Regions from separate parts of the Homo sapiens genome. Here region 2 is linked to region 1. The links are contacts of gene promoters, found by promoter capture Hi-C in human tissues and cell types (Jung and others, 2019). All regions are on one chromosome and are shown on one strand. Each heading gives the region's core, a stretch centred on a gene start or on the middle of the fragment in contact. The rest is flanking DNA. Distances are from core to core; before and after follow the strand shown. Region 1 holds the start of CRTC1 (CREB regulated transcription coactivator 1). Region 2 overlaps ELL (elongation factor for RNA polymerase II).

Region 1 (5,547 bases), core at 1,544-4,043:
TTTCACCATGTTGGCCAGGCTGGTCTCGAACTCCTGACCTCAGGTCATCCACTCACCTTGGCCTCCCAAAGTGCTGGGATTACAAGTGTGAGCCACTGCACTTGGCCTCAGAATTTTTCTAAATTCATTGACTGATGAATGGATAAACAAATACAATATATCCATACAACGGAATATTACTTGACCCTAAAAAGGAACGAAGCACTGATCCATGATACTACAGAGATGAACCTTGAAAACATGACGCTGAGTGAAAGATGCCAGTCACAAAAGGCCACGTGTTGTGTGATTCCATTTATATAAAATGCCCAGAATAGGAAAACCCACAGAGACAGAAGACAGCTTAGTGCTTGCCAGGGGCTAGGGGAGGGGGAATGGGGAGTGACTGTTAATGGGGACGGGGTTTCTTTCTGGGTGGATAAAAAATGTTCTGGAATTACAAAATAGGGGTGGTTGCACAACTCTGTGAATATACTAAAAACCACCAAACTGTACACTTTAAACAAGTAAATTGTATGATGTGTGAATCATATCTCAATAAAGCTATTATTTTAAAGAGATGTTTTCAACAACAATAATCTATTTCCAATCCCACGCAGAAACTGGACTTCTAATCAGAATGACACCCATGAACCTACTGTGACCCCTTTCTTCCGGTCACACTGCAAACATTTGACAACAACTGCATGCCAGCACACACCATGTGCTGGAGACAAAAAGAAGTGGCCACTCCTGCCTCAGAAGCCCTGATATGTGGGGGACACTCACGTGGAAGGATGCTCAAGTTGCACACTTTCTTCTTATTTTCTTTTTTTGAAATGGAGTTTCACTCTTGTCACCCAGGCTGGAGTACAGTAACATGATCTCGGCTCACTGCAACCTCCACCTCCCAGGTTCAAGTGATTCTCCCACCTCAACCTCCCCAGTAGCTGGGATTACAGGTAGCTACCACCACGTCCGGCTAATTTTTATATTTTTAGTACAGACAGGGTTTCACCACGTTGGCCAGGCTGGTCTCGAACTCCTAACCTCAGGTGATCCACTGCCTCAGCCTTCCAAAGTGCTGGGATTACAGGCATGAGCCACCACACCTGGCCATTTTCTTATTTTTTTTTCATTCATTCATTCACCAGCCATCTCTTTCTCTACATCCTGAGCAAGAATGTAGCTGCTTGGAGCTGGGAGGACAGATGTGGCACACTCACCGAGCATGCCTAAAGCAGTACCTGGGTGACAGTGAGCTCCCAATCATTACCAACACAGAAATGAAGACACAAATCCTAGTCTATAAGGTCACAATCTCTCAGAGAAACAAACAACTAGTTACAAAGTAACACAGACTGAAAGTGCTACCTAAGGAATCAGAGACTGAGGTTAAGTCTACCTGAGCCAGTCACATCAGTGGCTGAATCTGGAAACCAGGGATACGAGCATCTGCAAAGCCCACCCAAACCCTCCCCAAGGCCCCAGGATGCAGGAGAGAGGTCTCACCACACTGCAAGAACAAAGTGGAGATTCAGCATCACCTTTGCAGAGTGTGCTCACCACCCTGCCCCAAGAGGAAGGTCTTGCTAGAATGCCTGACAAGAAACTGAGGCCTGAGGAACTCGGGTGCCTTGCCGTGCTCAGACACCAGCCCCAAGCCCCTGCTCCTGGCCCACAGCAACTTCCCAGGTGAGATTTGCAGGGTATCTGCTCTGCCAGACAGGAGCCTGGCAGAACCTGGCCTGCCCCTGCACACCAAATGCGCCCAGCCACCTGAGGCAGACCTGGCCCTCCACCCTGGTCCTGAGAGGGCAGGGGCTGTGGTCAGCATCCCCTGTTCCACTGGGAGGAACATCACCTGGCCCCCACCATATGGGCTACATGGAGAAGGGGCAGCTGTCTCCACTCCAAGTTCCAGGACTGAGCACAATCTGCCTTCTTGGCCCCCCTCTGGACCCCCTGGGGGACAGGATCTGACCATTCCCTCAGCTGTCCAAGAGGGAGAGATCCCTGTCCCACCTCAGCTCTGCAAGTGGGGACATCCGTTCCTCCCCCAACACCCAGGGAGTAAAGGCACAGGTAACCATGACGTAGAGACACCGGTCCCCCTCAGGTAGCAAGAATGGGAGGGCATCTGTCCCTCCCAGGTAGCAAGGATGCGGGGGCACTTGCACCCTCACCCCCAGCTACCAATGGTGCTTGCAAGCAGCACCCAGCTCATACACCTGTGTCATCCTGCCCCCCCAGGTAGCAATGATGCGGGGGCACCTGTCCCTTCCAGGTAGTAATAATGTGGGGCACCTGTCCCCCTCGGGTAACAATGATGTAGGGACACCTGTCCCCTGTCAGGTAACGACGAGGTACTAGCACCTGTTCCCTCCTAGTAGTAATGATATAGAGGCCCCTGTCTCCTCCGGGGAGCAGTGATGCAGGGCACCTGTACCCCATCAGGTATGGATTTTGTGGGGTCACCTGTCCCGCCCACGACGCCCGGGGCGTGGGGACACCTGTCCCCCTCGGGCCGTGCCAAGCCCCGCCCCCGCCGCGCGCGCCCCGCCCCCGCCGCGCCCCCCCCCACCCCGCCCCGTGCACGCGCCGGACACGCGCCCCCTCCCTCCCTCCGCCGGCCCTGAAGGGTCGGCGCGGGCAGCCCCCTTACCCGCGCGGCCCGCGTCAGGCTCAGGTCCTTCATGACCTCCTCGAAGGCCGCCGTCTCCTCCGCCTGCTTCTGATTGTGCAGCGCGATCTTCTCGCTGAATTTCCGCGGATTGTTCGAAGTCGCCATCTTCTCGCCGCCACCTCCTCCTCCTCCTCCTCCTCCTCCACCTCCTCGCCCCCCCACTCGCCCGTGCCACCGCGCAAGCGCCGGCTGGGCCCACGGGCGGCGAGCAGTGCGCAGGCGCGCCGGCGGTCGTGAGCGCGGCGCAGGCGCACAGGAGCGGCGCGCGGCGCGGGGGCGAAGGCGCATGCGCGCGCCCAGGCGCGCGCTCGGGGCCCGCGGGAAGGGCGGTGGAGCGCGAGTGGAAATTTCAACGCCGACGCAGTGATCCGCCTCCTGGCCCGCTGGACAGCGGCCTCTGGGCTGTTGGACAAGGACCGCGGATCGGCTGGGGCACTGGAGCCCCCAAGAGGGAGACGGCCTGACCCAGATCCTCCCAATTCACAAGGGTGGGGCCAGGCACCCCCCCCCGCAAGGATTGGTGGCACCCCAAGTTGAACCTGGGTTTGGACTAAGAGCTCTGAAAACAGACTAGGGCGTTGGTCACTCATGCATTCATTCATTCAAGGAATATTTACTGAGCACCTACTATGTGCCAGGCAAACTGGAGTACAGGCGTGAACAAGCAGAGGTGATCCCTGCCCTTATGGAGTGTACAGTCAGAGAGGGGGCAGACATAGCACACAAATAACCAAGAACTTTTCAGATGGAGGTAAATGTGATGCGGTAAATAAGACCAGTGGCCAGCCACAGAACATTAGGGAGGGAGGCTCCTGCAGCCACCACAGACAGGGAGGCGGAAAGTTATCTTAGCTAAGACCTGAACCCTGCAATCGGCTCTCTCAGTCCATAAACCTAGCTGTTGCCCTTAACGACTTTCTTTTTTTTTTTTTTTTTTCCCTTGAGACCGAGTTTTGCCCTTGTCGCCCAGACTGGAATGCAGTGGTGCGATCTCGGCTCACTGCAACCTCCTCCTCCCAGGTTCAAGCCATTCTCCTGCCTCAGCCTCTCCAGTAGCTAGGATTACAGGCAGGCGCCACCACGCCCAGCTAATTTTTTTATTTTCAGTAGAGACTAAAGACCATGTTGGCCAGGCTGGTCTTGAACTCCTGACAGCAGGTGATCCACCCGCCTCGCCCTCCCTAAGTGCTGGGATTACAGGCGTGAGCCACCATGTCCAGCCGACGACTACTTTTTCCCATTCCCTTGCAATGGGCATATTGCTATTCTCTGGATACCTGAGCCCAAAGAACTGGAGTTACAGAGCTTCAGCCTTCCCTCTGCATACTTCTCCAGTCCAGTCTTGTTCAAGGATCTCTATTTTGCAACAAGGTGCTAACAGAAGGGTCCAGAAATCCCATCAAGACTCAGCAGTGAAGGAAGGAGCAGAGACTCCCCCGATGGCAGAGTGGTAAGCCAGGGAAGCAGGAGGGACTCTAACCCTCCCTCCCTCAAGAGAGGGACCCCCAACCACCAATATTGAAAGTTTATATTCAGGAGGCTGCAGGGATTTCAGAGTATGGGCTGGGTGGAAGCTAGGAAGGTCAGCTGGGGGAATTGATGATGGCTCTAATGGCACAACAAGCACACATTTTATTGGACTGAGGATGGCTGGAGGGGATGCTGACATCTTCCAAACATGCTTTGATTCATGCTTTACAACAGGTAATAAAATGCTCATGTTAAATATATATATATATATATCGATTTTCATTTAGAATGCCTTGGATATTGCCACTGCCCTACTTTATCTTTGTTTTGAGACAGAGTCTCACTCTGTCGCCCAGGCTAGAGTGCAGTGGCGCAACCTTGGCTCACTGCAATCTCTGCCTCTCAGGTTCAAGCGATTCTCCTACCTCAGCCTCCCAAGTAGCTGGGATTACAGGCATGCACCATGATGCTCAGCTAATTTTTATGGGATTTTTTTTTTTTTTTTTTTTTTGAGACGGAGTCTCTGTTTCCCAGGCTGGAGTGCAGTGGCACAGACTCAGCTCACTGCAACCTCTGCCTCTGGGGTTTAAGTGATTCTCCTGCCTCAGCCTCCCAAGTAGCTGGAATTACAGGAACCCACCACCACACCCGGCTACTTTTTGTATTTTTAGTAGAGACAGGGTTTCACCGTGTTGGCCAGGCTGGTCTTGAACTTCTGACCTCAGGTGATCCGCCCGCCTCAGCCTCCCAAAGTGCTGGGATTACAGACATGAGCCACCGCACCCGGCCATCTTCCTTCTTGATATGATTTTGCGCACTTTGGTAAGCTCCTATACTTTTTGCCTAACAAGCATATTCCTTCTCTCAACCCCACCCACTCCCTCAACTTTTTAGTGTCAACAACCCTTATTTGGGGAACACTGGTTCTGACTTTCAGTCTGTGAGATGTGAATGGCTGGTCTCACCACTCTCCCACCACACAAACACCCCTCCCTAAGGTGGAAGTCTTGGCCAATCAGCATAGCCCATTGTGCTGGCCATCAAGATTGGTTCAGGCCAGGCTGGGTGTTGTGGCTCATGCCTGTAATCCCAGAACTTGGGAGGCCGAGGCAGGAGGATCATTTGAGCCCAGGAGCTTGAGACCAGCCTGGGCAACATAGCGAGATTTAATCTCCACTAAAAATAAAAAAATTACCTGCGCGTGGTGATGCCTGCTTATAATCCCAGCTACTCAGGAGGCTGAGACAGGAGGATTGCTTGAGCCTGGGAGATGGAGGCTGCAGTGAGCTATGATAATGCACTGCACTCCAGCCTGGGTGACAGAGCAAGACCCTGTCTCAAACAAACAAACAAACAAACAAACAAAAAACAGGCTGGGCGCTGGGTCATGACTGTAATCCCTACACTTTTGG
Region 2 (6,027 bases), core at 1,713-4,212, 170 kb after region 1:
AGTGTGTGTGAGGGACTGAGCTCTGCACTCGGCATCGTGACCCTTGACTGTGCTTTCAGCTGGTTGCCGTGGCTGTGATTGTGTGTAAACAGCAGGCAGCGCTCACTCGGAAACCCACCCCTCTGTTGACTCACGGCCAAGGCCGTAGTTCATCACCTTTGAAGCAGTTTTGACATCACACCCGGATTGTGACATCCCGACTGGGAGACCTTGAGGGAGGAACCCGCCAGCCTGACAAACAGGATTGCCTCTCTGCTCCACGTAGCCCTGGGCTCGAAGCAGCTGCCCAGGGAAGAGACCCTAGTTTTCAGAGGTCTGCTTCTCAGGGGGCATCAGCCTTGTTTAAGGCACCTGGCAGGGCACAGACTTGTGATTGATACTGCACATTTTGGGTTTGGCCTCTTCTGTGTCCTTTGTTTTAGGGTCTTGCTCCCCGTTGTGCTTTCTGCCTTGATGAATTCAGTTGTTACACTTTCTCCTTGGTCTCTGAATCTCATGGACAGGGTTGTCTTCAATCTCACCTGTGTAGTCAGCCACAGAGTCCAAAGGGAAATGTAGAACAATGCATCCAAATGGCCTGTGACCTGCAGGTGCAGTGAATGACAGAGATGGCCATGACATGTGGTTATTTTGTCACTTTGCTTTTTTTTTTTTTTTTTTTTTTGAGATGGAGTCTCACTCTGTTGCCCAGGCTGGAGTGCAGTGGTGTGATCTCAGCTCACTGCAAACTCTGCCTCCCAGGTTCACGCCATTCTCCTGCCTCAGCCTTCTGAGTAGCTGGGACTACAGGCGCCCGTCACCACACCCGGCTAATTTTTTTGTATTTTTAGTAGAGATGGGGTTTCACCGTGTTAGCCAGGATGGTCTCGATCTCTTGACCTCGTGATCTGCTTGCCTTGGCCTCCCAAAGTGCTGGGATTAACAGGTGCGAGCCACCGTGCCCGGCTGTCACTTTGCTTTTTAATGAAAAAAGCTGGTGTCCAAATAAACCATCCGCAGGGAGACTATTCTCCCAGATAAAAGCGTCCTAGAGACCTCCCGCCTCCATCTGACCTGGCAGTGGGCCCCAGAGTCTGATGCTAATTATATCCTCCAGGGCTGGACCCTCCTGACCAAGTGGAGACACGGCTCCTGACTGAGGCAGCCAGGCCAGCAGATGTGTTTGTGAAGGGGTAGGGCTTCGAGTTCTGGTCAAGTTTGTGGAATAACTGAATTCCGATTTTTTTGTTTTGTTTTGTTTTGTTTTTGAGATGGAGTCTCGCTCTGTCGCCCAGTCTGGAGTGCAGTGGTGTGATCTTGGCTCACTGCAACCTCTGCCTCCCAGGTTCATGCCATTCTCCTGCCTCAGCCTCTTGCGTAGCTGGGACTACAGGCGCCCGCCACCACGCCCGGCTAATTTTTTGTGTTTTTAGTAGAGACAGGGTTTCACCGTGTTAGCCAGGATGGTCTCCATCTCCTGACCTTGTGATCCGCCCGCCTCAGCCTCCCAAAGTGCTGGGATTACAGGCGTGAGCCACTGGGCCCAGCCTGAACTCCTGTTTTAAAAGCATCCTGTGAAGTTTTTTTTTTCCTTTTTACTATATAAGCAGTATAACTCAGGGTAGAAAGCCTGCAATGTACCTAAAATTAGCAAGTCTGTTCTCATTGCCCCAGGTAATTTCTGTTGACACCTTTGCACCCTCCTCTGTCTCGCCTGGGTGTACCGTGTTGTCATAGTGGCACAATCATATGGTTTTGCGTCTCTTCTTCCCTGAACACTTTATGTTTTAATGCTGCACCTTCTGTGCATCGTGGAGCCTGACAGGTCAGTATTCTTCGGGCATTTTTGTGTTCTTGGCACTATGCTTGGTTCTGGGGATGTCCGGATGCTGCAGGCCTTGTGTGTGTACAGGCCAGTCCACTGTCCCGTAGTGAGGCTACATAGAGCGATGAGGTGAGGTGAGGCAGGTGACCCAGCACAGGCCACGGCCTGGCATGCCCATGTGTCTGTGAGTGGAGCCTGGAGTATGAGGCTGCGATTTTGAGGCCAGGGAAGGCAGCTCAGCCCCGCTTGGCTTGCTCCTCTTTGGACAAATTGAGCTGCTGGTGATGGAGGGCTGTGGTCAGTCCTTCTCACCGTTCTTCAGATGGGGAGACCGCAAGTATATACCCTACTGTTAACACCCCTGTCCTTCCCCCAGGCCCATCGGGGGCCTCAGCTCTTCATGAGATGCTGTTGTTGCGCCCCGTGTCCTTTTTATATGTTGGTGAAAATGTTTTCACAAAGAGGCGTCTCTCTTGAAGGATGCTGAGAACTGCATATTGGGGATCAGGTACATTGGTGGCGCTGCTCCCACTGACAATTTGGGGCTCCAGGCTGCTGGCACCCTCCCTGAGCCTCAACTTCCCAATTCAGGTGAAGGTGTTGTCCTAGAGGTGAGACAGGCTTGTTCTCCCTGGCTGTGCACGAGGTGTCAGCTGCTCTCCTCGTTGACCCAAAAAATGATCCCAGAAAGCAAAGCCTCCAAAATTTAAAATAGCTTCTCCTATAGCTCTGCTGTTAGGGTTTTATTGTTTTTTTTCTGAAATAGAGAACTGGCTTCCTAGTTTTGGCTCATTGCAACCTCTGCCTCCCAGGCTCAAGCAATCCTCCCACCTCAGCCTCCTAAATAGCTGGTACTACAGACACCCATCATCACGCCTGGTTGCTTTTTGTATGTTTTTGTAGAGATGGGGTTTCACCATGTTGCCCAGGGTGGTCTTGAACTTCTGAGCTGAAGCGACCTGCCCGCCTTGGCCTCCCAAAATGCCGGGATTACAGGCGTGAGTCACCGCACCTGGCCTGTTTCTTTATTTTTATTTCTTTATTTTTGAGACGGAGCTTTCTGCTCTGTTGCCCAGACTGGAGTGCAATCACGTGATCACAGCTCACTGCAGCCTCAACATCCTGGGCTCAAGCGATCCTCCCACCTCAGCCTCCCCAGTAGTTGGGACTACAGGCATATGCTATCACACTCAACTAATTTTTTTTCTTTTTTTTTTTTGAGACGGAGTCTTACTCTGTCGCCTAGACTGGAGTGCAGTGGCATGATCTTGGCTCACTGCAACCTCTGCCCCCTGGGTTCAAGCGATTCCCCTGCCTCAGCCTCCCCAGTAGCTGGGATTACAGGCATCTGCCACCATGCCCGGCTAATTTTTGTATTTTTAGTAGAGACGGGGTTTCACCATCTTGGCCAGGCTGGTTTTGAACTCCTGACCTCATGATCCATCCACCTCGGCCTCCCAGAGTGCTGGGATTACAGGCGTGAGTCACTGTGCCCGGCCCTTTTTTTTTTTTTAATTTGTAGAGGCAGGGTCTCACTGTGTTGCGCAGGCTGGTCTCGAACTCCTGGGCTCAAGCAGTCCTCCAACCTCAGCCTCCCAAAATGCTGGGATTACAAGCTTGAGCCACTGTGCCTGGCCAGCTTCCTGGTTTCTTTAGCAATTTTCCCACTGGAAAGCCCACAGCACTGTCAGAGGGAGCTGGGGCCCCCTGTACTTCCACCTTCTCCATCAGGCCCCCTCCGGTGGTATGGTGGGTGGTGGGCAGTGGGCAGGGAACCAGACTGATGTCCTGTGGTGTGGATGGACCACATCGTGCTCATCCATTCCTCTGTCCATGGGCATTTGGGTTGCTTCCACCTCTTGACTGTAGTGAACCATGCTACTGTGAACAGGGCATGTAAGTATCTGTTCAAACCCCTGCTTTCAGTTCTTTTGGATACATACCCAGAAGTAGACCTGTTGGATCGCCGAGGCTGGAGTGCAGTGACGTGATCTTGACTCACTGCAACCTCTGCCTCCCAGGTTGAAGCAATTCTCCTGCCTCAGCCTCCCAAGTAGCTGGGATTACAGGCGCCCACCACCACGCCAAGTTAATTTTTTTTTTTTTTGAGACGGAGTTTCGCTCTGTCACCCAGGCTGGAGTGCAGTGGTGCTATCTCAGCTCACTGCAAGCTCTACCTCCCGGGTTCATGCCATTCTCCTACCTCAGCCTCCCGAGTAGCTGGGACTACAGGCGCCCACCACCATGCCTGGCTAATTTTTTATATTTTTAGTAGAGATGGGGTTTCACCATGTTAACCAGGATGGTCTCGATCTCCTGACCTCATGATCTGCCCGCCTCAGCCTCCCAAAGTGCTGGGATTACAGGCATGAGCCACCGCACCCGGCCCATGCGTAGCTAATTTTTATATTTTTAGTAGAGACGGGGTTTCACCATGTTGGCCATGCTGGTCTTGAACTCCTGACCTCAGGTTATCTGTCCACCTCGGCCTCCCAAAGTGCTGGGATTAGAGGTGTGAGACACTGCTCCCGGCCTCATTTGGTCATTCTGTGTTTAATTTTTTGAGGATTTGCCAGATTGTTTTCCACAGCGGCTGCAGCATTTTACATTCCCACCAGCCGTGCACAAGGGTTGTGGTTTCGCCACGTCCTTGCCCGAACTGGTTATTTTTTGATGGTAGCCATCTTAATGGGTGTGGGGTGGTCTTGGAGCCATTTAAATGCCCTCATGTATGTGACTGTCCTGTGAGAGCTAGGACCTGCAGGGCCTCTGATGCCCCTGGATGGACCCAGGAGTCACCTGGTCACAGGTGACAGAGGAAGGTCTCGAGCAGGATCACCTGGGCTCAGGTGAGAGAAAGGGACAGGGAGAGCCCGGTGTGGCTCTGCAGTGAGGGAAGCTGGGGCTGAGTGGAGATGACAGTGGCTACGTGCCCTGCTTCTGCATAGCCAGTGTGCGGTTGCCCGGCCTGTGTTGGGATGCAGGTTTCTCTTTTTGTTTTGAGACCGAGTCTCACTCTGTCACCCAGGCTGGAGTGTGCAGTGGTGTGATTCTTGGCTCACTGCAACCTCCACCTCCCAGGTTCAAGCAATTCTCGTGCCTCAGCCTCCAAATTAGCTGGGATTACAGGCTTGCGCCACAATGCCCAGCTAAGTTTTTTGTGTTTTTAGTAGAGACGGGGTTTCACCATGCTGGCCAGGCTGGCCTCAAACTCCTGGCCTCAAGTGATCCACCCACCTTGGCCTCCCAAAGTGCTGGGATTACAGGCGTGAGCCATCGTGCCCAGCTGGGACATGGGTTTCTGTAAGCAGTGAGGGTTAGGAAGGGCCTTGGGTGAGGTTGGCCAGGGTGGTTGAGCCTCTCAGTGGCAGGACTTCTGAGCCCTGCAGGTACTGAGGCTTCAGGGCCCTTCTCAGGCAAAGAGCTCAGATGGGTGCAGAATCTCTATTTTTAGCCCTTTTTGGATTAAGCTTTTGTGGAAAATGAGGTCTCTTCCAGGTGAGAAGTGGCCTGGAGGTCCTGCAGGTCAGGGACAGCCCACTGGGGGGCACTGGCTGGGCGGGGGGGTCCAGCTGCTGCCCTTGGCCTAGCCCTGAGGCATTTGCTGAAGGTGGGTGGGAGGGAAGAGGAGGAGCAGAGTTTTCTTAGGATCCTGTGGGCAGGTGGAATCCACCTACTTCCAGGAGGAGCCCCAGGCCTCCAGTTGGGGAGGGGAGTGTGTGTGTGTGTGTGTGTGTGTGTGTGTGTGTGTGTGTGTGTGTGTGTGTGTGTGTGTATGTGCGCGCGCGCGCACGTGCATTGGCCTGTGTCTCCATCTGTGTTCACCCTGGAGACCTTAGGTTGGGCCCCTCTATCCAGGGTAGGCTGATTAGTGGGGGCCTGTGGGCCAAGGGGCCGGGTGGGGGCGGCCACCCCATCACATTGCCCTTCTTTCGGAAGGGTGACTCCCCACCAGGAACCCAAAGGGCTTGGGGTGGCCTTGTCTCCTCCCACAGGCCTGAGGAGGGTAAGCTGGGTTGGGAAGTTCCTTTTTCCTTTCTGAAAACAGTGACTTTTCGGGGTACAATGAGCTTCCTGCTGTGGATCTTGTAGCCCCTACACCTGGAGGGAGTGACCTTAGGGTCTCAGTGGGCACTGTGATAAGGATGCCTGCTGGATTGCATCAGGGCGCCTGGTTCACAGGACCTCCAACCTGGCTGCTGTGGGGAAGGGCCCTGGTGGGT

The links. The method cuts DNA at HindIII sites, captures the fragments that hold promoters and counts their contacts. A contact is called where the count stands out against the background at its distance.
Region 2: a contact is called between a fragment that was not itself captured here and the fragment with the promoter of CRTC1 in region 1, in 1 of the 25 tissues and cell types used here (dorsolateral prefrontal cortex).

The regions. Positions count from the first base shown.
Region 1 is chr19:18,680,926-18,686,472 of GRCh38, reverse strand. It overlaps CRTC1 (CREB regulated transcription coactivator 1), which reads right to left and starts at 2,793. Exons shown (of 14, transcript NM_015321.3): 1 at 2,645-2,793. The coding sequence starts at 2,770. RefSeq lists a silencer at 2,804-2,893 and an enhancer at 3,104-3,403. The HindIII fragment of the contact is 17,160 bases long and covers 1-5,547 here.
Region 2 is chr19:18,509,151-18,515,177 of GRCh38, reverse strand. The region is part of intron 1 of ELL (elongation factor for RNA polymerase II); the gene reads left to right. Among named protein-coding and RNA genes, the nearest start is that of ELL, 9.9 kb to the left of the region's middle. The HindIII fragment of the contact is 5,853 bases long and covers 36-5,888 here.